Regions from separate parts of the Homo sapiens genome. Here all the other regions are linked to region 5. The links are contacts of gene promoters, found by promoter capture Hi-C in blood cells and fetal thymus (Javierre and others, 2016). All regions are on one chromosome and are shown on one strand. The core of a region is centred on a gene start or on the middle of the fragment in contact, and the rest is flanking DNA. Distances in the headings are between cores, read along the strand shown. Region 1 overlaps TAPT1 (transmembrane anterior posterior transformation 1). Region 2 holds the start of FAM200B (family with sequence similarity 200 member B). Region 3 overlaps TAPT1-AS1 (TAPT1 antisense RNA 1). Region 4 has its middle 43 kb from the start of TAPT1-AS1. Region 5 holds the start of MED28 (mediator complex subunit 28). Region 6 overlaps TAPT1-AS1 (TAPT1 antisense RNA 1).

Evidence for each region. Contacts are between HindIII fragments. The CHiCAGO score rates a contact against its expected background, and 5 or more counts as called.
Region 1: a fragment that was not itself captured here is called in contact with the fragment with the promoter of MED28 in region 5 in 2 of 17 cell types (activated CD4 T cells and total CD4 T cells); the score reaches 8.1 in activated CD4 T cells.
Region 2: the fragment with the promoter of FAM200B here is called in contact with the fragment with the promoter of MED28 in region 5 in 1 of 17 cell types (total CD4 T cells); the score reaches 5.7 in total CD4 T cells.
Region 3: a contact is called between a fragment that was not itself captured here and the fragment with the promoter of MED28 in region 5, in 1 of 17 cell types (M2 macrophages). The highest score is 5.4, in M2 macrophages.
Region 4: a contact is called between a fragment that was not itself captured here and the fragment with the promoter of MED28 in region 5, in 2 of 17 cell types (M1 macrophages and M0 macrophages). The highest score is 9.2, in M1 macrophages.
Region 6: a contact is called between a fragment that was not itself captured here and the fragment with the promoter of MED28 in region 5, in 1 of 17 cell types (fetal thymus). The highest score is 5.6, in fetal thymus.

The regions. Positions count from the first base shown.
Region 1 is chr4:16,212,259-16,215,438 of GRCh38, forward strand. TAPT1 (transmembrane anterior posterior transformation 1) reads right to left here. Exons shown (of 14, transcript NM_153365.3): 2 at 1,510-1,640. Among named protein-coding and RNA genes, the nearest start is that of TAPT1, 13 kb to the right of the region's middle. The HindIII fragment of the contact is 1,009 bases long and covers 1,359-2,367 here.
Region 2 is chr4:15,679,706-15,683,320 of GRCh38, forward strand. FAM200B (family with sequence similarity 200 member B) reads left to right here and starts at 2,122. Exons shown (of 2, transcript NM_001145191.2): 1 at 2,122-2,196. It also overlaps a transcript of FBXL5 not described here. RefSeq lists enhancers at 1,622-1,921, 2,092-2,331, 2,342-2,391. The HindIII fragment of the contact is 4,207 bases long and covers 1-3,236 here.
Region 3 is chr4:16,250,957-16,254,167 of GRCh38, forward strand. The region is part of intron 2 of TAPT1-AS1 (TAPT1 antisense RNA 1); the gene reads left to right. Among named protein-coding and RNA genes, the nearest start is that of TAPT1-AS1, 26 kb to the left of the region's middle. The HindIII fragment of the contact is 3,832 bases long and covers 1-3,211 here.
Region 4 is chr4:16,267,766-16,271,038 of GRCh38, forward strand. No RefSeq gene overlaps it. Among named protein-coding and RNA genes, the nearest start is that of TAPT1-AS1, 43 kb to the left of the region's middle. The HindIII fragment of the contact is 3,109 bases long and covers 1-2,814 here.
Region 5 is chr4:17,613,297-17,616,647 of GRCh38, forward strand. MED28 (mediator complex subunit 28) reads left to right here and starts at 1,345. Exons shown (of 4, transcript NM_025205.5): 1 at 1,345-1,517. The coding sequence starts at 1,359. MED28-DT (MED28 divergent transcript) reads right to left here and starts at 1,284. Exons shown (of 3, transcript NR_186331.1): 1 at 846-1,284; 2 at 636-742. RefSeq lists enhancers at 690-1,889, 995-1,284, 1,385-1,494. The HindIII fragment of the contact is 7,436 bases long and covers 1-1,435 here.
Region 6 is chr4:16,229,955-16,233,095 of GRCh38, forward strand. All of the region lies in intron 1 of TAPT1-AS1 (TAPT1 antisense RNA 1), which reads left to right. Among named protein-coding and RNA genes, the nearest start is that of TAPT1-AS1, 4.9 kb to the left of the region's middle. The HindIII fragment of the contact is 8,035 bases long and covers 1-3,141 here.

The DNA of each region.
Region 1 (3,180 bases), core at 613-3,112, 1.4 Mb before region 5:
TTCCCCTGTAGAGGGCTGAGGCCAGGTGGGCAAAAGCTGATTGTGGCTGGCACTATCCTGTCCAAATACAGGCCCTGGCAGGCTGTCCTTCCCACTTCCCCTGCACTGTGTCCTCACACTTCCATCTCATGGCTTATTGCTGGAAGAAAGCTGCAAAGCAAGCTAACAGTCTTTTAAGACACAAGAACTGGTTTAATCTTTTATTTTTTTCCAAGTAAAAGAAACATCCGCCTACCCTACTCCTTTCCCCAAACAAAATCTTCGATAAATCTCAATGTATAAGACAGAGCTGTTGCTGCGCTGGAGAGGAGTGCTGTGGAGAGCCCTGCCCACTCCTCCTCCCTCCTTATCTGTAAGTCCCTCAGGCCCCCCCAGGGAACTCTAGTCCTCTAGAAATGCAGGAATACAGTAATAGTTGAGCATATTTAATGATCCTTGCCAAAGGCAATCAAACCACTGCCATATTTGTTCTCTAATCTTTGCTTGCTCACCAGCTCTCTAAATCCCACCCTAATACAGAACTCCCTAAAACTTCAGCAAGTGACGCTTCACCAAGAACCTACATAAAGCAACATTTCTGAAACTGTCACTCTACATTTCGCTCTTTTTCTTCTATTAAACTGATAGACTATCAGAAATAGAACATCAGCCAAACCAGCTGGGTCCTTACTCCTCATTGCCTGCAGTACCTCTTGTTACTACAATGTACCAATAAATCCAGCCAACCAAACTCTTCTGATAGCCACTCCAACAGAAAGTATGATTCTAAGAAGACGACTGGACTATTACAAGATTTACGTTACTACAGAAGTATGAAAACATGTTTCAATATAGCTGAAGCTGAATTATTTCTTCTTTTCTTTTAGCAAGAAATTTTGGAATTGCTTAGACTCACCAACTCTAGCATCGCCTAGGGGAGAAGGGGCTGCTTTCCCAGCCTATTTTATTGGTCTTGATAGGATAAGGCACAGCCAAGGAATAAGACACGTGAAGATGTAGTGCTGCTGTTACTACACTCACCCTGTAATGTGATGCTTCCTGTGATAAAGATTAAACAAACCATCTTTTTCTTTGAAGAGACTGTCCTGTATGTTTATAAACATGTGGGCTTTCTGAGAAACTGAAACCTTTAAAAAGGCTGAAATTAAATAATTTATCATGCTGAATGGGGGAAAAAAAACCTGTTTCTAGTAAAAGAGAACTGAAGGGAACTAAAAGGGTACAGAAGTAGAGATTAATTCCTTACAAAAGTTATTTTGATGTAGCACACAATGATAATGATAGGCAGAAAAGTTCAGATTTTGATAGATCTATTAATATCCTATCACTGGGTCTTACACTAAAAAATGTAACTTTAAAGCTTCTTCCTGTAAGGAAATTTCTACTCCCCCAATAACATTATTTCAATTATTTAAAAAACTCAACTCTAGCTGTTGACCATTTTTTTGCATAATTAATACTTTGACATAACTTTCAAAATGATGTCTGGTAATGAAGAAAAAATAGTACCTTTTCCAATTCTCTTGGTATTCGCAAACAAGTGTATACTCTTTCTCTTCTTTCTGTATACTTGGCCTCATTATGTTCAAGGAAGTACCCTCTTGTTAGTTCAGCACTGAGGAACCTCAACAATGAAAGCTCTACAGAAAAGAAAATGACAGAAAACAAAAAGAACAGTATTTATCAAGGAACTTCCACGCTAGCTGGGGCCACAGGTAATATACATATAAAACAAAGAGACCAAAATAAATGTTATCTATAATTCTATGCCTAGAACTGCACACAATGATCAGCAAGTATTTTTGAGAAAAGTATTCTTCTTTGTGGTATAACCTGAAAATGCCACAGGAATATGGAAAGGAATAATTATTAAGGGCTAGAATAGTCAGAAAAGTATTTTTCAAGAGCTCAGTCTTGGTTCTTACAGGTGATACAGTACCTGGACTGACAGACATGGAAGGAAAATCAGTAGGTGTCAAGAATATATAAAATAGAGCAATATATAGAGTCAAAAGGGAGCAAAGTCACACAACGGGCACCACTTTAGTCCAAGAACCATCCTGGATGAACTACATGGATACTGGTGCCCCAGCTCCCTTCTTAGTTTAGCCTCAGAGATCCTGCACAAACATCTAAATAATGCCATTTCCCTACATGAAGACTTACCAACATGATACTCACAATAGTTATTACGCGAAGTGCAACCTCAACCGGATCAGAAAAACCTCCCTTTCCTTGGATCTTTCCATTCACCCGTGTTTTTCCTCTGTTCCTCTAAAGCAAATTACTCCATAGTTATCTCATCTCAGGTGAGAAAAACAAGGTCAAAGGAAGTTATTTATATACTTTCCACTCACTACAACTGGAAGCTTGAGGTGAGAAGCGAAGGCTCTGGATGCTCGACCCCACCTCTTCCCAGTGCATTACACTTCCCTGATAGCCCATCCCCTCAATGACCCTCAGCACCCCTTACTTCATCTACAGCTTCCTACTTTTACTCTGCAGGAGGTAAACTCTCTTCCAGAACGCAGGTTACCAAAAGGTTTCCAACTGTCCACTGTTCTCTTTGCTCTGAGCTGGCCTTGTGGTCCTTTCTACCAAATGTGGTCTTAATGTTCCCTCCAAAAAATGACAAGGGAGGAAGGTTGATTTCATTTATGCAGATCTACTTAAGGAGTTGCACCTTCTAGGAGTACTATGATCTAAAGCCTACATGTGAGGGGGGAAGCGTTTATAGTAAAAAATATCCTTGGCCAGGCACGGTGGCTCACGCCTGTAATCCCAACACTTTGGGAGGCCGAGGTGGGCAGATCACGAGGTCAGGAGTTCAAGACCAGCCTGGCCAACATAGTGAAACCTATCTACTAAAAGTACAAAAAAAAATTAGCCGGGCGTGCCGGTGGGCGCCTGTAGTCCCAGCTGCTTGGGAGGCTGAGGCAAGAGAATCGCTTGAACCCAGGAGGCAGAGGTTGCAGTAAGCCGAGATCACGCCACTGCACTCCAGCGTAGGTGACACAGCAGGACTGTGTCTCAAAACAACAACAACAAAATATATATATATATCTCCTTAAAAGCCCTTGGAAAGACTTAGAAGCCAACTTGACTATGGTTTTAAACAATAGGTCTACAACAGCTTACTTCCTCCAGCATTAAAACGGATTCCTGGTTCTTTGAGTATTA
Region 2 (3,615 bases), core at 872-3,371, 1.9 Mb before region 5:
TCAGGATTTTACTTATCTATCAAAAAATCCCAATTATATTCCTGTTCTTTCCAATCCCCCTAAAAAAAAAAAAGCAGTATGTCTCATTCTCTTCTCTGCTGATAGGAGTGTAAAATGGATCACTCTATGAAGGGCAACTGTAAATATCTATCATATTTGCAAACACATTTCCTCTTGGATCCAGCAATTCTTTTCAGAATCTGACAGTTACCCCTGCAAATGTAGAAATGACATGTATTCACTGAAGAGTTGTTTCTAATATCTGAAGACTGGAAACAACGCCAAGTGTCCACCTACGCGTGATTTACTGTATAAACTGGAGTATATCTACAAAATGGAGTATGTGACAGGAAAAAATAAGTTTAATTGAATACTGATAAGGAGGAATATCCAGAATATACAGTAAAACAGGAAAAAAAAAAACATGAACAATGCAGAAAATATTGAAGGAGAGACCGAGTGAAATAAGACTGTATATTCTCATCTGCTTGTATCTCTGCATGAAGACCGGAAGGATAAACAAGAAACTAATTTAAAATGATTACCCGTGAAGACTATTAGGAATGGTACTGGATAGGGACTAGGGAGGAAGTGTTTCTTGCTGCATTTCTTTTCATGTAGTTTGAGCCATGTAAAAGAAATATTTGCTAATCAAAAAACAGCTTTAAAAATCCAGTGGGAGAGGCTGGGTGCAGTGGCTCACCCCTGTAATCCCAGCACTTTGGGAGGCCCAAGTGGGTGGATCACCTGAGGTCAGGAGTTCGAGACCAGCCTGGCCAAAATGGTGAAACCCCGTCTTTGTATTTTTGAAAAATACAAAAATTAGCCTGGCATGGTGGCGGTCGCCTGTAATCCCAGCTACTCGGGAGGTTGTGGCAGGGGAATCGCTTGAACCAGGAGGCTGAGGTTGCAGTGAGCCGAGGCTGCGCCACTGCACTCCAGCCTGGGCGAGAGAGTGAGACTCCGTCTCAAAAATTAAAAAAAAAAATCCAGTTGGAGAATCAAAAATTTTTAAAAATTTGACTGTGTAATCCTACAAGAAGTAAGTAGCTTGAGAAAGAGAAATGCTGATAAAGTCGCATTAAGTTTCAGAGTTGAAATTCAAGCTCCTGTATCTAACATGTTTCCCTGTTTAAGGTAGAATTTAAAAAAAAACTATATATGACATATATATGTCAACCCAAAAAAATAAAGCAGTATATATTATATATATAAGAATATATATATATTCTCCTTTATATGTTTTTTGTTTCACATATATATATAAATATATATCTCAACCACAAAAAAATTTGGTTTGTGACAAAGATGCACTTATTTGCACGAACCTATCTTGTTAATGATCAAGAAATCTGCTTTGTTACAATCATTAGAGGACAGAAATATACATACATATTTAAATCTATTTAATGAAATGCAGTTTTATGTTAAAAATCAATGATCTGCTAACCTAAAGAGTCGCACAGGAATACTATGATTATTAAACACAATGCGATTCTCTAAATAAGTAAACACGTGCAATGATATCAAAGTTCAAAATTCTCTAATTCTTCCACAAAGACTATGAAAATCACCTTGGAGTGTATGAACCAGCGTCCTGGCCCCGCCAGGTCGGGGCTGGGGCGGGCGCGGGCCGGGAGCGCTTACCCCGCGGCAGGAGCGATTCAGCGCCACTACCTGCTTCGCCTGGTTGTGGTGTGGCTGCTGCGCCAACCGAAAGGCCTCCTTAATCCGCAGCAGTCTCTTTTCGCTCCCATGGCTCTGGGACTCTGTCCGGACTAGCCCTGTCCGCGCTCGGCTACATCCGGCCCGCCCACCAGCTCAGAGGCAGAGTTCTCCGCGGTGTCTCCTAGGGTTTCTTGTCAGAGGGCCCCAGGCGCCTAGGGAGTCGTTACCGCCCTGGCATTCAAATAACTCCCGCGAGAGGCGGAAATCCCGCGAGACTGCCGACAGAGCGTAGGGAAGTGGAAAAGTGGAGCCTGCACCGCCCGCTCCCGGCACCCCCGGACACCGCCCCGGTCTCACGCATGCGCAGAGGGCCGATCCAGTTCTTTTCGGCTGGAATGGGGAATTTGTGAGGTAGGCCGGAAGTGGTGTTGCGGAGGGAAGTGTGGGGAGAGCAGAGGCGCAGCTCTGCTGGAGAGACCTGAGGCTTGCAGCGCTGGGCCCGGCCGGGTCGCTGCGGCTGGGCTGGAGGTGAGGCGAAAGAAGGGCATCCTCTGATGGGAGTGGACCGGAGTCCGCTAAAGCGAAGCATTCCAGGGTTCGTTGCGGGAAATACAGTCTGGTTTTGCCCCCCGTATGAATTGAGGGAAGGTGAGAGCAGAAGCAATCCGGGCCTGAAGGGCGATTATTCTAGGGTCGGCCGAGGGGTTCAGGCCAAAGTTCATTGAAATCCTAGCTGGGTCCCTGGAGGACGAGAAAACCGGTCAGGAGTCTCCTGGGAAGAGGGTCATGTTTTAATCTAGCTAAAGCTGGTACCTGGCAGTTTCCACTCTTAAGGCCTAGTGTACTAACTAATGTGTGCGCAATGTCAAAACAGGAAACAAAGGGAAATGCAAGAGGTGGAAGGTAATTTTAAGTTAGTGGCAGTATGACAGATTTCCAGTGCCTTCAGGAAGGTATCCAGCCTTAAAGATGCTTTTTTTAAATAGACGATTTTAGACAGAAAAAAGGTAGAAACAAAACTATAACACATGTGTACTCACCACTGAATTGGAGAAATAAATGATTATATAAGTGATTGAAGTCCTTTGTCAGCTCTACCCCGTCTCATTCTCTTTCCTTTTGCCTAAGGAAACCACTCTCCTAACCACCTTTATGCAATCTGTAATGTGTACATCTTTTTGCAGCTAGCTTGTTTTACATAATGTTTTTGAGATTTGTCAGTGTTGTGTAACTCCACCTTATTCATCTTAATAGCTGAACAGATATTCTGTTATTTTAATATGTCACTGTTCATTGTTTAGTATCTCCAGTGCCTGACATACTTTAGGCACTGTAGGTAGCTAAATGTTAGTTGAATGCATGGCTGCTGTAGCATTTGAACTAAGTAGAAAAGAATAAATAGGACTTCATGTGACCCAACAAGAGTATTCCAGGCAAAAGGAATACTAGCCAAAAGCAGAGACATGAAAGTGCATGAACTATTTCAAGAATTTCCATACTTTTAGTACTGAAATGTAGAATGTATGGAGATCATGTGATGAAGGAGAAACCTGGAAAGATGAGGCTTAAGCTTAAAGGATATTATCCTGAAGAGCTTACACAAGCTCGGCGCCATTAAATGCTTTTCCAGTTATGAGGAAGCTGATTAGAGCTGTATTTTCAGAAGATGATACAGCGCACTAGAGATATATCTTAGGATATAAAAGATTAGTGACGGGGAATTTTAGACTATCAAGCATTGTAACAATAACAATCATTGCATTAAGCAAGTAAGACAACCAGCCAGACTAAAAATCCAAAAACATTTTCCTAGTCCATCATATTATCACATTCCTTAACAATTATTAATATTTCATATTTTCTTCTGACAAACTTGCAACATTTTCTACTTCGGCCTCTTACTTAGATGATACCTCACATCCTATTGAGTTAAAAAAAAACTTCCCC
Region 3 (3,211 bases), core at 258-2,757, 1.4 Mb before region 5:
GTAAAGTCCACCTTCCTTGTTTTCACTTTTTGTAACCTAATTACTCCAACATCTTTGCTGCTGACTTTTACCCCTGCTTTCTCCTAAATTACTCTCCCAAAGGTCACCAAAGGACCACGTGGTCATCACATTTGATGACCTTCTCTCCATTTTTACCCTCCTTAACCTCTCTGTGTTTGATATTGTCAACCACTGTCCCTTTCATGAGTCCCTGTTTCCATGGCGATGGTGACATTGTACTCTTCCAGCTCTTAAATCCTCCTGACTGTTCTTTCCCTGAGCTCCATAATGACTCCCCTTCCACTTCTCTAGTCTTCTTTTTTTTTTTTTTTTGTTTTGAGACGGAGTCTCACACTCTCACCCAGGCTGGAGTGCAGTGGCGCATTCTTGGCTCACTGCAAGCTCCGCCTCCTGGGTTCACGCCATTCTCCTGCCTCAGCTTCCCAAGTAGCTGGGACTACAGGCACCCGCCACCACACCTGGCTAATTTTTTGTATTTTTAGTAGAGACGGGGTTTCACCGTGTTAGCCAGGATGGTCTCGATCTCCTGACCTTGTGATCCGCCCGCCTCAGCCTCCCAAAGTGCTGGGATTACAGGCGTGAGGCACCGCGCCCGGCCTTCTCCAGTCTTCTAATTGTGGGGTCTGCCTACAGAACTGTTCTTTTCTTACTTCTCTTTTTTCTGCATTTTCTATTTCTTGGATATTTAATTCACTCCTATGGCTTCAATGATGATTTCTATGACAGAGGTTTTGAAATATGACAGATACAGACATAACTAGAAATATAAATCTGACCCTGACCTCCCCTGGAGTTCTAATCTCCCATTTTCTGTTACCTGCTAGGCAAGTCCCATTTGTATTTTATTTTATTTTTATAGAAAGAAATGAGATAATCATATGTATTGTAAAAATGTGAATCCATACACATATGTACTGTATATATATATGAATGCATATACATATGTAATACATATACATGTATATTGTGCATATACACACAAACACATCTTAATGAGACCAATGTCAGGTCTCTACCCCCGAACAATTATGTTGGAATATGTAGGATGGGGCTGCAGCACTTGTGCCTATTAAAAGCTCCCAGAGTGATTGGAAAAGAACAATTATTTCCATAGGTTTTGGGGAACAGGTGGTGCTTGGTTACATGAGTAAGATCTTTAGTTGTGATTTGTAAGATTTTGGTGCATCTACCACCTGAGCAGCATGCATTTGTATTTTAAACTTAGCATTTCTAAAACAAAACTTGTCTTCTTCACCTTCAGACTCCCCAGTATGGGCTAAAGAGACCTTTCTGGCCTATCCCCTGCTCACCTTTCCTGTTTCATCTCTTACCACTCTTCTACAAGCACTCTTTTTTCCAGTCATGTCAAATAACTGCAGTTTCACGAACATGTCACGTTTCAAATGCCTCTATGCTATTGAAAACTACGTTCTGTCCCCCGAAACATCCTTCTCCTTGGGCCTGAATTTTTTGTCCCAAAACATTCCTTCCTCAACCCTCCAAATTTTTCTTGTGTATCATTTTCCTTAGGAAGGCTTCCTGCATCTGATGCCCTTCTGCTGTCTCTTATAGCACCCCTTGGAAACTTCTGTTATAGATCGTATCATACTAAAGTGTAGCTGGTTGCTTACTTGTTTGTATTCCCAGGTGAACTGTGAGCCCTTGGAAGTGAAGAAGTATGTCTTTGATGTCTGTACACCCAGGCCCTAAAAAAGTGCTTAACACATAGTAAGTGGATTCACACACTTTTTCTGTGCTTAATACATACTGAATGTGAATACATACGGTATGTGAATCTGCTTCTCTCTCCTGGTTTCTCTATTTTTGATGGTGGTAAAGCCATCTCAAATTTATATCTCTAACCCTGACATTCCTCCTAACTCCATGATCACATCCTTCCTTCAAAACATCTCCACTTGAATGTCCAAGAGGTTTATTAAATCTAACAGGGGCTAAGCAAAGCCCCTGCTGTCTTTGCCCACCATACTGCATCTTGGTAAGGGCACCACCATTTACCCAGCTGTTCTAAGTACAAACTCTGGAATCATCCTTTTTCTTCTACTCTACATCAAATCTGATAAAAAAAAAATCCTACAAGCGTTGCCTGATCATAGATCTGGAATCTGGCCATTTTTCATCTCCTCCAGCAGTGCTACATCAGTTCAAGCCACCATTGTCCCTTCCCTGGGCTCCCATGGTGCCTTCTTACTGGTATCTGTTTACTCTTGCTCTCTATAAATGATTCCTCCAAACAAAAGCCAGAGGTACTTACCTTGGCTTACAAGACCATTGAGGATTAGGCCTTTGGCTATCTTTCTGGGCTCATGACCTATCACCTCCTCCTTGTTGACTCTGCTGCCTACACAGGCCCCCTTGTTACTTTCTGAACACACCAGATGGACACTCATTTCAGGGCTTTTTTCATGCTACTCTCTCTGCCCCAGATACTTCTCTCCTAGAACTTCACATGGCTCACTGCCTGGCTTTCTTCTGGTCTCTGCCCAATAGTCACTTCTGGAAAGAGGCCTTCTCTGACCATAATATCTAAAAAAGCACCCCCACAGACTCTATCCTCTTACCCTGATTTGTTTTTTCCTTTGCCATATGATGTTTTATATTTCTTTATATATCTATTGATACTCTCTTTCATTAGTACATTGGCTCCCTGAGAATAGGGTCTTCGTCTACCATGTTCTTTGCTGCAATCCTAGCATCTGGCACTTTTCCTGGCATATAGCAAAAGCTCAACAAATACTTGATGAATGAATAATTCCAGTTATTCAAGACTGTGAGTCATATTTGACTCCTCACTTGCATTCCCTCCTGTGTGCAGTCACCGAGCCCTTTAGAGTCTTATGTTTATTCATTTCACATTTATTGACTGTAAACTGTCTTATGGTCTGTTTTTCTTTGAGCTAACTTACTTTCCACAAGTGCCATATCAAATGAAGTAATTAATGCAACAAGAACTTTGTAAACTCTAAAGCACTATACAAATGTCATTTTCCTTCCAGTCCCACTGCGATGACATGAATTAATGTTACTTCCTCTTCCAATCTATACAGGAGCCTCTAACTGAACTATCTCCTTCCCAAATTCTCCTTAGATTATATATTTTGCACCCTGCTGCCCACTTAGTCTTCTTAAAGCCTTGCTATAATTATGCACCTCTCCTACTCAAAAACTTTGA
Region 4 (3,273 bases), core at 10-2,509, 1.3 Mb before region 5:
ACAATATGAGAAATGAAAACAGATGAATCTTCCTTAAGAATATTTATTTGTAGAATTCAAAATAAAGCATTAATACATACAGTCAGCAATTTATATATGTGAACAAGATTTGGTAGTTGAGAAAGGAGAAATTATAAAAAATTGGGTGTTAATTTGAACTAGCTTAAGTTTAGCAACATTGCTGAAGAAATGGTCACTGAGACTGCCAAGATGGTGTTAGGAGCTCGGTGTCAAAATTGTGGCAGGAGACCTATACCAACCTGTTGTCACTGAAACCCACTGGGCTCTGCCTTGTAAGTGCTGCAGGTGTCTCCATGGAGCCTCATGCTGTGGGTCACTAATCCAGAAGGGCCTTGAGAATGGGCCTCCTCTATTGTTTTCCGCCCTCATTTCAGGGACTGTTTCCCTGCACAGGTAGGGAATGACCTCCCTGGAGCCTGTGTCTTCGCAGGAGAGTCCCAACTGTAGCCGTGTTTCTGAACAGCCCTGGCTTTTATTGTAACAGGGAAACAGCAAACGAACTAACATAACTAACTCCATTTTTATTTAAGGAGCATTTACCCATTCCTGCACCTAGGCTAGGATAATTTTAGAGCACTGAGATAATATGCAAAAACAGCAGTCACGGAGTTTCTGTAACTAACTCTGGAATTAGAGGGAAAGTAGGTAAACAATTAACTGTACTTTGTTAAAGATATACGGGTACACTGTGACCTGACTGACGACAAAGAAGTTCCCAACCTCCTCCAACCCTCACTGGTGCTCAGATGTCTGCAGTCATTTGTCACCTCTTGATCACAACTCCCTCTTCTTCCCCCTGCCCTTAACATGAAAAGAACCTGAAATTTGTACCAAGTTAAGATGATACTTTAGGATGTTAGTCCACCATCTTCTTGGTTTGCTGATTCTCCAAATAAACCTGCTTTTCCTCCCACCAACCCTTGTCTCTGGAGTTTAGGCTTCCCAGCGGTGAGCAGCAGAACCACTCATCTATTCCCAAGCCTCTTCTCACTCATTGAGCTGCACTTTGTGTCCATACTGGCTTCAGAGACAATCATCTGTCTCTGTCTCTGAGGCTGTAGGAACTGAAGCAGCTTTCATCTAAGAGCCTGACTGGTTTGGCTCAGAGGCCTCCTAAGGCAGCATCACTGGTGAGCCAGTATCCCTAAAAAGTAGTTACTACTGGAGGACTGTACCACTACTTGTGTTCACCATAGGACTTGGTCACTTGGACCATCTTTTGGGATCATAACAGGATCATCAATGCCTGCTTCTACTCAAACACTGTTTCTTTGATTCACACATACATTGAAATACACCTGTGCCTTGATGATATCTACCACCACTACCCCTCAACCAAGACATCTGTCAGCACTGGGGAGTCCTGAATAAAAAGCACAGCATCAGTTGGCACTGGGATGGGAGCCCATGGGCTTTTTGATTTCCTGCTCTTATTGGCAGTTGGGAGCTAAATTTTCTCACTCTCAATTATCTTCAAATCCTGAACAGTGCAGAGGGTTAAACCTTACTTAATAAGGCATTGGTTGGACCTTCAGCTACCCCATAGATTCAGTTTGCTGGGAACTGATTCAAGTTAACATGTGTCAGGGGCTATGATGAATGGACTGACTCTGGATACCTTTGGAGAGCTTAAGAAAGCACTACAGACAGGACTGGGGAGCAACCCACCCAAGCCTTGGCAAAGGACCAAGAGGCGGTGGTGGTAGTAGCAGCACTCACTGATCAAGACCTTTAGGAGAAGTGAGATGGGACATAGAGCCAAGAAAATTTTCTGGGACTGAGGTTTCCTTGGAAGCCATCTGATACCTTGTCAAGGCAGCTAAGGAGACTTAGAGTCTTTCCAGGCAAGCACTTGGAGTTGTTCCACAGGACTTGGTTTCCCCAAGCCAGTGAGGCTCACAGGGGCAAAGATTCATAGTTCCTCACCTCTGTGGTTACCTGCAGCACAAGGCTTGGGTGACCAGAAGGAAGAATGGTCACACACTGAGCCTACATATTCTAATCATTATTTTCAATGGGATTTTGTAACTAAATCCCTTTTTTGCTGGAACAAGGGCAATCAAACCTATGTATGGCAGATTCTAAATAAAATTCTAAAGGAGAAATTCTGACAAAAAAAACAACCCTTGAATAATGGCAACATCATGAGAATATTTGTAGCCCCAGGGTGACTACTTTGGATGCTATACAATTACCTGTATACGGATGTCAGGTAAGTTTATTGAATCATTATTTTAAAAATCTTATTTGCTTACTCACAGAGCCTATTTTTTCAGAAGTCTTAATAATCACATTTTACATGCTTACAAATGCTTGCTGGTGTCAGGCTCTGCTCTATGAATTCCACATGTACAGCTCATTCATTCTTGTAGCAGTCCCAGGAGGAATGGCTTCTTGCTTTCTCCATTTCACTTTTAAGCAATTTGCCCAAGGTTATACAACTATTCAGTGGAGGAAGTGAGGTTTAAACCCGCAAGGCCTGGCTCCGGAGCTTGGTTCTTAACCACTACCTCCACTGCATCTGATTATGTCATCTACTCACAGGATATTTTCCAATTTAAAATGACCGCAAGCAATCCTTAGAAACAGCCCCAATTTGCCAGATAATCATGACTGTCTTCCCTCCTATCAGGGGAAGCCATGTGGATCTGGCTTAAATTTCTTAGGAGAGGTGTATCAGTTAGGGTTCCTCTTTGGAAAGCCACAAAAATGAACTCTGGCCAAGATCTTATAAAAGGGGAATTTGTTAGAGGGATGTATGGATTAGGTAATAAGAGGGAAACTGGAGAATCAAGCTTAAAAATAGGATGGGAGGAGCCACGAACATAAACTATGTCTACTGTGGAAGTATAAGCAACAGGAACTTCACAAAATTCAGGGCACTGCTGCTGGAGCAAAAAAACCCCAATTCTTCTGAGCCTTGGGAGCCTTGGGAGCCTTGGAAGAATGAATATAAATGGCCAAGTTGGACCATGCACTTCCTAGGGACTGTACAGAATGGTGAGAGGAAGCTTCTTGGGGAAGGAGCCTCTGGGTATTTCAGAACAGAAGTAGAAAGTATTGGGACTTTAGTAGTGGGAGGGAAGAACTTCATGTTTTTCTACTGATATTGCACAGAATGGGGAAGAGGTAAGTATGAATGGGGAAGAGGAGGGAGTGAGCAGGAAACTGACTTGAAAACTATTACAATAGACCAAGTAGGTGGTCATGTAAGATTAAAACTTGGATAATAGAAGAAAGAATGAGAGGAAA
Region 5 (3,351 bases), core at 95-2,594:
GCGGGCGCCTGTAGTCCCAGCTACTCGGAAGGCTGAGGCAGGAGAATTGCTTGAACCCAGGAGGCGGAGGTTTCAGTGAGCCGAGATCGCGCCACTGCATTCCAGCCTGGGCGACAGAGCGAGACTCCGTCACCAAAAAAAAAGAGAGAGATAAGCAAATGTTAAAAGCAGGTTACTACAAGATTAGCAGCCTAGTGCCGGGCGCGGTGGCTCACGCCTGTAATCTCAGCACTTTGGGAGGCCGAGTCGGGCGGATCACGAGGTTAGGAGATCGAGACCATCCTGGCTAACACGGTGAAACCCCATCTCTACCAAATATACAAAAAATTAGCTGGGCGTGGTGGCGGGCGCCTGTAGTCCCAGCTACTCGGGATGCTGAGGCAGGAGAATGGCGTGAACCCGGGAGGCGGAGCTTGCAGTGAGCCAAGATCGCGCCACTGCACTCCAGCCTGGGCGACAAAGCGAGACTCTGTCTCAAAAAAAAAAAATTAGCAGCCTGGCGCCTTGGCTCATTACTGTATTCCCAACACTTTGGGAGGCCGCGGCGGTAGAATCACTTGAGCTCAGTAAAACACCTGACTCAACTAAAAAAAAAAAAAAAAAAAAAAAAAAAAGCCCGTCGCGACTGCACGCACCTGTGGTCCTAGCTACTTGGGTGGCTGAAGTAGGGGGATTGTTTGAGCCCGGGAGGTCGAGCCCTGATCATGACACTGCACTCCGGCCAGGGCGACAGAACGAGACCCTGAGAAAAAAGAAAAGAAAGAAAAAAAAAGATTAGCATAGTGACTTTCTCTTTGATGTAACCATAAATATTTAAAGACATCAGTGCCGGGCACATTGGGAACCTCAACAAAGTTGTTTCCGTTATCCATCTCCGACCAGAATTCAGGAAGAACTTTGCCTGTCTTGTTCCCGCTATAACCAATGACTCAACAAATGTTTGTGGAGTGAGTGGGTGACCCTCTCCTTTTACCAACGGTAAACAGCCCGCGGAAAGAAAAAGTGACTTAGCCAAAGTCTCTCCAGGCATTTGGGGCAGAGTCGGGACTAGCATAGTAGTATCCTGACTCTCGCAGGAGGGCTCGCTCCACTGTAGTTATTAATTCTCCTCTCCACACAACCAGGTCTAATCCGGCCAAAGTCTTCAATTCTTAAGCTAAGAAAAAAGGAAAATACATGTAAACTCTGTTTTGCGATAGACAAGAAAACAGAAGAATTAAAAATCCTCCTTCCGGGGTGCACCAGAATCCTCCCATCGCTCGGTCCTGTCACGTGACCACGCCTACTACACCAGCCACGTGAGCTTCTGAGCCGGCTTCCGCGCAGGCGCAGTGGATCTCTCTTGCGCCATTCCAAACATGGCGGCTCCACTAGGGGGTATGTTTTCTGGGCAGCCACCCGGTCCCCCTCAGGCCCCGCCGGGCCTTCCGGGCCAAGCTTCGCTTCTTCAGGCAGCTCCAGGCGCTCCTAGACCTTCCAGCAGTACTTTGGTGGACGAGTTGGAGTCATCTTTCGAGGTAATATAAGACATGGGCGTCTTTGTCCCTAGCCTTCCCTTTTTTCTGAAACGTGAACTGCGCGTACGCGTATCTCCTCCAGGGATCCGAGCAACTAATTCACAAATGGGGAAACTGAGGCTTAAAGTAAGTCACTTGCTTTAGGCTTCCCCGTGGCCCGTATTCAATTCAGGTCTGCTGGCGGGGGCGCGTAAACTCGACGTTTGTGGAAACGTGAACCCGAAGTTTGCCTAAACCCCAAACTTGGAACCCTTCCAGATTCCCAGCCGGTCCTTAGTCTCATCCCCGAGCACCGTTTCTTGCATCCCTGCATGTTTAGTAAGAGGCTCAAGCCTTTTCGGAGCTGAGAGTTTCACTGCTGTATCCTGTATCCTTTCCGCTGGGCTTCACCTTTAAACGATCCTAAAGGGACTCTTAAGAGCGGAAATTGACTTAAGTTACCAGGCGCAGCTTGGTACTAAGAGCTGAGGAAGGAGGAATGCTGGAGGTTAGGGAGGGAGGGAGGCACAGGTGACCCAATCTCTCAGTTTTGCCCAAGGAGTTTACCTTGTAGCAAGAAAGGTGAACTGTATATTGAGGGAAGATAGAGAGGTGAAAATAAGTGCTCTGGTGATTTCCAGTAGTCTTTAAAGTGGAAGATGAGCTATTCCTGTGTAGTAATAAAGTAATGTACGTTCAAATTGGAGTTAACTTTTCCACATTTTAAATCCCAGTTTTGCCGGGCGCGGTGGCTCACGCCTGTAATCCCAGCACTTTGGGAGGCCGAGGCTGGCGGATCATGAGGTCAGGAGTTCGAGACCAGCCTGACCAACATGGTGAAACCCTGACTCTACTAAAAATACAAAAATTAGCCAGGCGTGGTGGCGTGCGCCTGTAATCCCAGGTACTCGAGAGGCTGAGGCAGGAGAATCGCTTGAACCTGGGATGCGGAGGTTGCAGTGAGCGGAGACCGCGCCATTGCACTCCAGCGTGGGTGACAAGAGCTCGACTCCGTCTCAAAAAAGTAAAATAAAATATAAATAAATAAAAATCCCAACTTTGTGACTTTTGTATTGTATCTAATAGCACAGTGGTAAATGAATATAATTTGCAAGCGATTATTCAGACTGCATGGACAAAATGCTTTTACCACACGGATGTACAAAGATTTAGAAATAAATGATTTGAGATGGAGTCTCACTCTCTCGCCCAGGCTGGAGTACAGTGGCGCAATTTCGGCTTACTGCAACCTCCGCCTCCCGGGTTCAAGCGATTTTCCTGCCTCAGCCTCCCGAGTTGCTGGGATTACAGGCACCTGCCACCATGCTATTTTTTTTATTTTTTAGTAGAGACAGGGCTTCACTATCTTGGCCAGGCTGGTCTCGAACTCCTGACCTCGTGATCCACCCGCCTCGGCCTCCCAAAGTGCTGGGATTACAGGCGTGAGCCACTGCGCCTAGCCAGAAATAAATGATTTAAAGGACAGACCGTTTAGGAGGAGGAGGAGGAGACACCTTTGAGGTGGTGCTAAGTGGTAAAGGAAGGGGCTGGTGAACTTTAGAGCAGCATCTAGCATTGTGCTTGAGGGGAGCTGGCTCTCAGTCATGGGCACTTGCTGAAAGACTGGCCCTGTACAAGTCTTAGCCAAAGTTGACTCCCAGCACCCTGCTGCTTAAAAACGTACAGTGGCTGCTTGTTGCCCTTGAGATAAGATCAAGATGTTTAGTGTGGTCTCCCAGGCTTTGCATGTTGCGTTCTCTCCTTCAGACTCGTTTCCTTACTGCAGCCACACAAGACTTTCCCACGTGTACCATTTGTTTTCTCTTTGGGCTTCCAGGCCGCTCCTCAGCTCACT
Region 6 (3,141 bases), core at 402-2,901, 1.4 Mb before region 5:
CCAAATCATTATGGTCTGCCATTTCATGAAATAACAAGTTTTAAAATAAGTGATGTTTTTTAGTTTGTATATCTATATTCTTTTCTACCAGGTATAGCACAGTGTAGTACAAGGGCCTACAGTTACAAGCCTTGGGAAAGATACTGTTTTGGCCACATATTTCAGCTATGTGACCCTGGAAAGAGGGTCTCAGAGGGCCACTGTGGCCCTCAGTGTCTTTTCATTGGTAAATTGGGGCAACATCTTTTGTATAATGAAAGCTGAAAAAAATAACGATTTTCCTTTTATTCTCCCTTCCTTTCATTTAGGCTGTAGTTTTCACTTTTTAACTACAAAGCAATTTATCTCTTGATAACACTTCTAGTGTATTGTCCCTAAAGTACTTTTGAAAGTAGTTCTGTACACTTTTCCTGAGTAATAAAAACATCACATATTTGCTAACTTGAAAGAATCCCGAGTCAGGAGATGGCCTGGATTCTCTCTGACCCTTCAACTAAAGTCTTTGACCAAAGGAGCACAGGTGACCCCTTTCTGCTTCATTTTCTGACCTGTAGAGTATTGGACTCAATGACCGATCCTCCCTTGTAGCTCCAAAATTCTGGGCTAAACTCCATGCACCTCCCTTCTGAGTTAAAAATAGTAGACAGGCCTGCATTATCAACATTTGTAGAAAAATATGAAATGCTTAGAGTCACTTTGTAATTGAGTCTAAGATTTGAATGCATAGAGTTCAAATGCAATACTTGTGTTGATAACACAACAAAGACATGTAAGTTTTTATGTACCTTTATGTTCTATGCATTAGTCCTTCATTCCTTGGCATGAGGAGAAGTGATGGTTTCTCAGTGACCTTCCAGAACTCTAAGGCTGTGTTTCTCACACCAGGCCTCAGGGTTTCTACATTTTGAACAAATTTCCAGTATTGTACCCATGCACACCTGAGTCTAAGAACTCTGCTGTAAGGTGACATTAAACAGCACCTGAAGTTATATTTGAGATGATTACTCAGTAATCAATGTACAGTTGATTTTCATAGTGTGGATTCAAGCACGGAATAGAGCACAGTTTTAATTAAATCTGTATTTCTCAGTTGAAACTTTATTTTAGCATTACATGACTTCTATTTCATGAATCATAAATGTCATGTTTCTTCACAAACTGTAGTTCTGAATTTAACTCATTCACCATTTTGTCGTCAAAAAGAAGAGTTGATGTTGTTGAAAGATCTAAACAGCTTTGCAGCTGATGTTCTAAAGAAATAAAATATACCACTGAACCCAGATCAAGCCTTTGCACTAAATTAATGTGAGTTTGAATTTCTGAGTTTCAGTAGTAATATTTTCTATCTTTGGCAATCATTTTTGGACTGACGCTCATTACGTTTTATTCTCTTTGGGCTTTATTCCATGGATTTGTAAAGGACACCAGTTCGCTTTATTTCTGGAAGATGTAACACAAATTAAGTAATGTGCCTTTGATTCCAATGTAACTGTTACACCTTAACTAAAACTGTCATGAGCAACATCATTTTTAAAAGCATTTCTTTGACGTGCAAATATATGACAGAAACCATTGTAAATAGGACTTTTTGAAAACAATACTTTGCTAAAAGGGGTGTTTTATGAAGGATATTATGTTCTGAAGACCTAAAGGTAGGTTCTGTTTATGTAATAAAAGTGTATGAACCTATATAATTTCATGGCTTATTGGCTTATAGGGCCTTTTATTCATGATCAGATATAAAATTTATTTTGTGCTGTACTTTAAATTTCTGGAAAATTTCAAAATACTGATGAAAGGGGCCCTGGTAATGACTCAGCAGACTTTCCATTCCAGATTTATCTCTAAGAAAAAAGAAGTGTTTCTCATTATCACGATGAAAATAAATAGAGGTTGTTTCAAACCGTATTAATCATTTAGTCGGTTAATTAACAAGAATCCTTTTGCAGAATAAATTCAGACCTTCTAGTAAATGTGTTGATAACTGTCAAAAATCCTTTTTTATAATTCTAGCTAGCAAAGGCTTTCATTTTGGAATTCAGGAAGCAGGGGAGATTTTATTTATCACCCAGTTCCTGTTGCTAGTCCTTTTGAATTTTGCCTTTCAGAGTTTTTTTTTTTTTTTCTTTTTGTTATTCCCCAGTGGCAAGTTATTTATTGCTTCGTTTGGCCACTCATCAAATAGTAGTTGGTAATCAGAAGATTTTACATGATATTCAGGATAATTTTTTGCTTTTTTCTAGTGTTTCTAGTTGAACTATGATGGATTAAGGTAACTGAGTAATTTTTCTCTTGACATCGATGCCCTTTAAGCTCTTTTGGGCTGTGATCCTGCTCTTGTAATTAGCTTTCATCCTGTTCATTAATCAGTGTTTCCATTCTGACAGTTTTTCCTTTTCTTTCTCCTCTTGTTTCTGAGATATTAAAAAGCGAAAGCAGTCTCTTACAAGGATCTATTGTTTGTTATCTTTTAGGCAAACCCAAGTATTTATCTCTCTCTTTTGCGTTCATACCAAAATTTATTGGAAATGCACGATAAATTTTCAGATTCTCAAAAATCTCAGGGTTTCTGCTTTCCAGGTTTTAGAAATTAGTTTATCTGATTTCAAGGCCTTAGATTTTCAAATTGCTCTTTTATATGCATCTATTCTATTCCGTTTTCTTTTCAGTTCTAAGCCTATGTTTATATGTAAAATGCTTCTCTTGTTTCTGACATTTTCCAATTTAGTATCAATTTCTAATAATGAACCACTGTTACCTGCTTGTCTTCCATGTGGATGCTTAATAAATACTATAACTTAGGTATACAGTTTCATGGAGGAGAATAGAAGAATGTGGTTAATTTTTTGAAATAGCAATAAAAAGAAAACATGTTGTGGCTTTAGCAAGCATTATTTTCTTGTGACAATTTTATCCTCCTAATTATACATTGCCTAAGCTGGTACTAACGTTAATTCATGTTCTCCTAAGCATATGCCCACTCTTGACAGATATACACTGGGGTTACAAATTTGGCGTGTATAATTTACACATAAATATTCAATTGCTAAGAAAACTGAGACTAAATCACATGCTGGTCATTATCATCTTTTAAATTACACTCTGACCTTTCATCCATCTACTTAGCAGTGTAATAACACA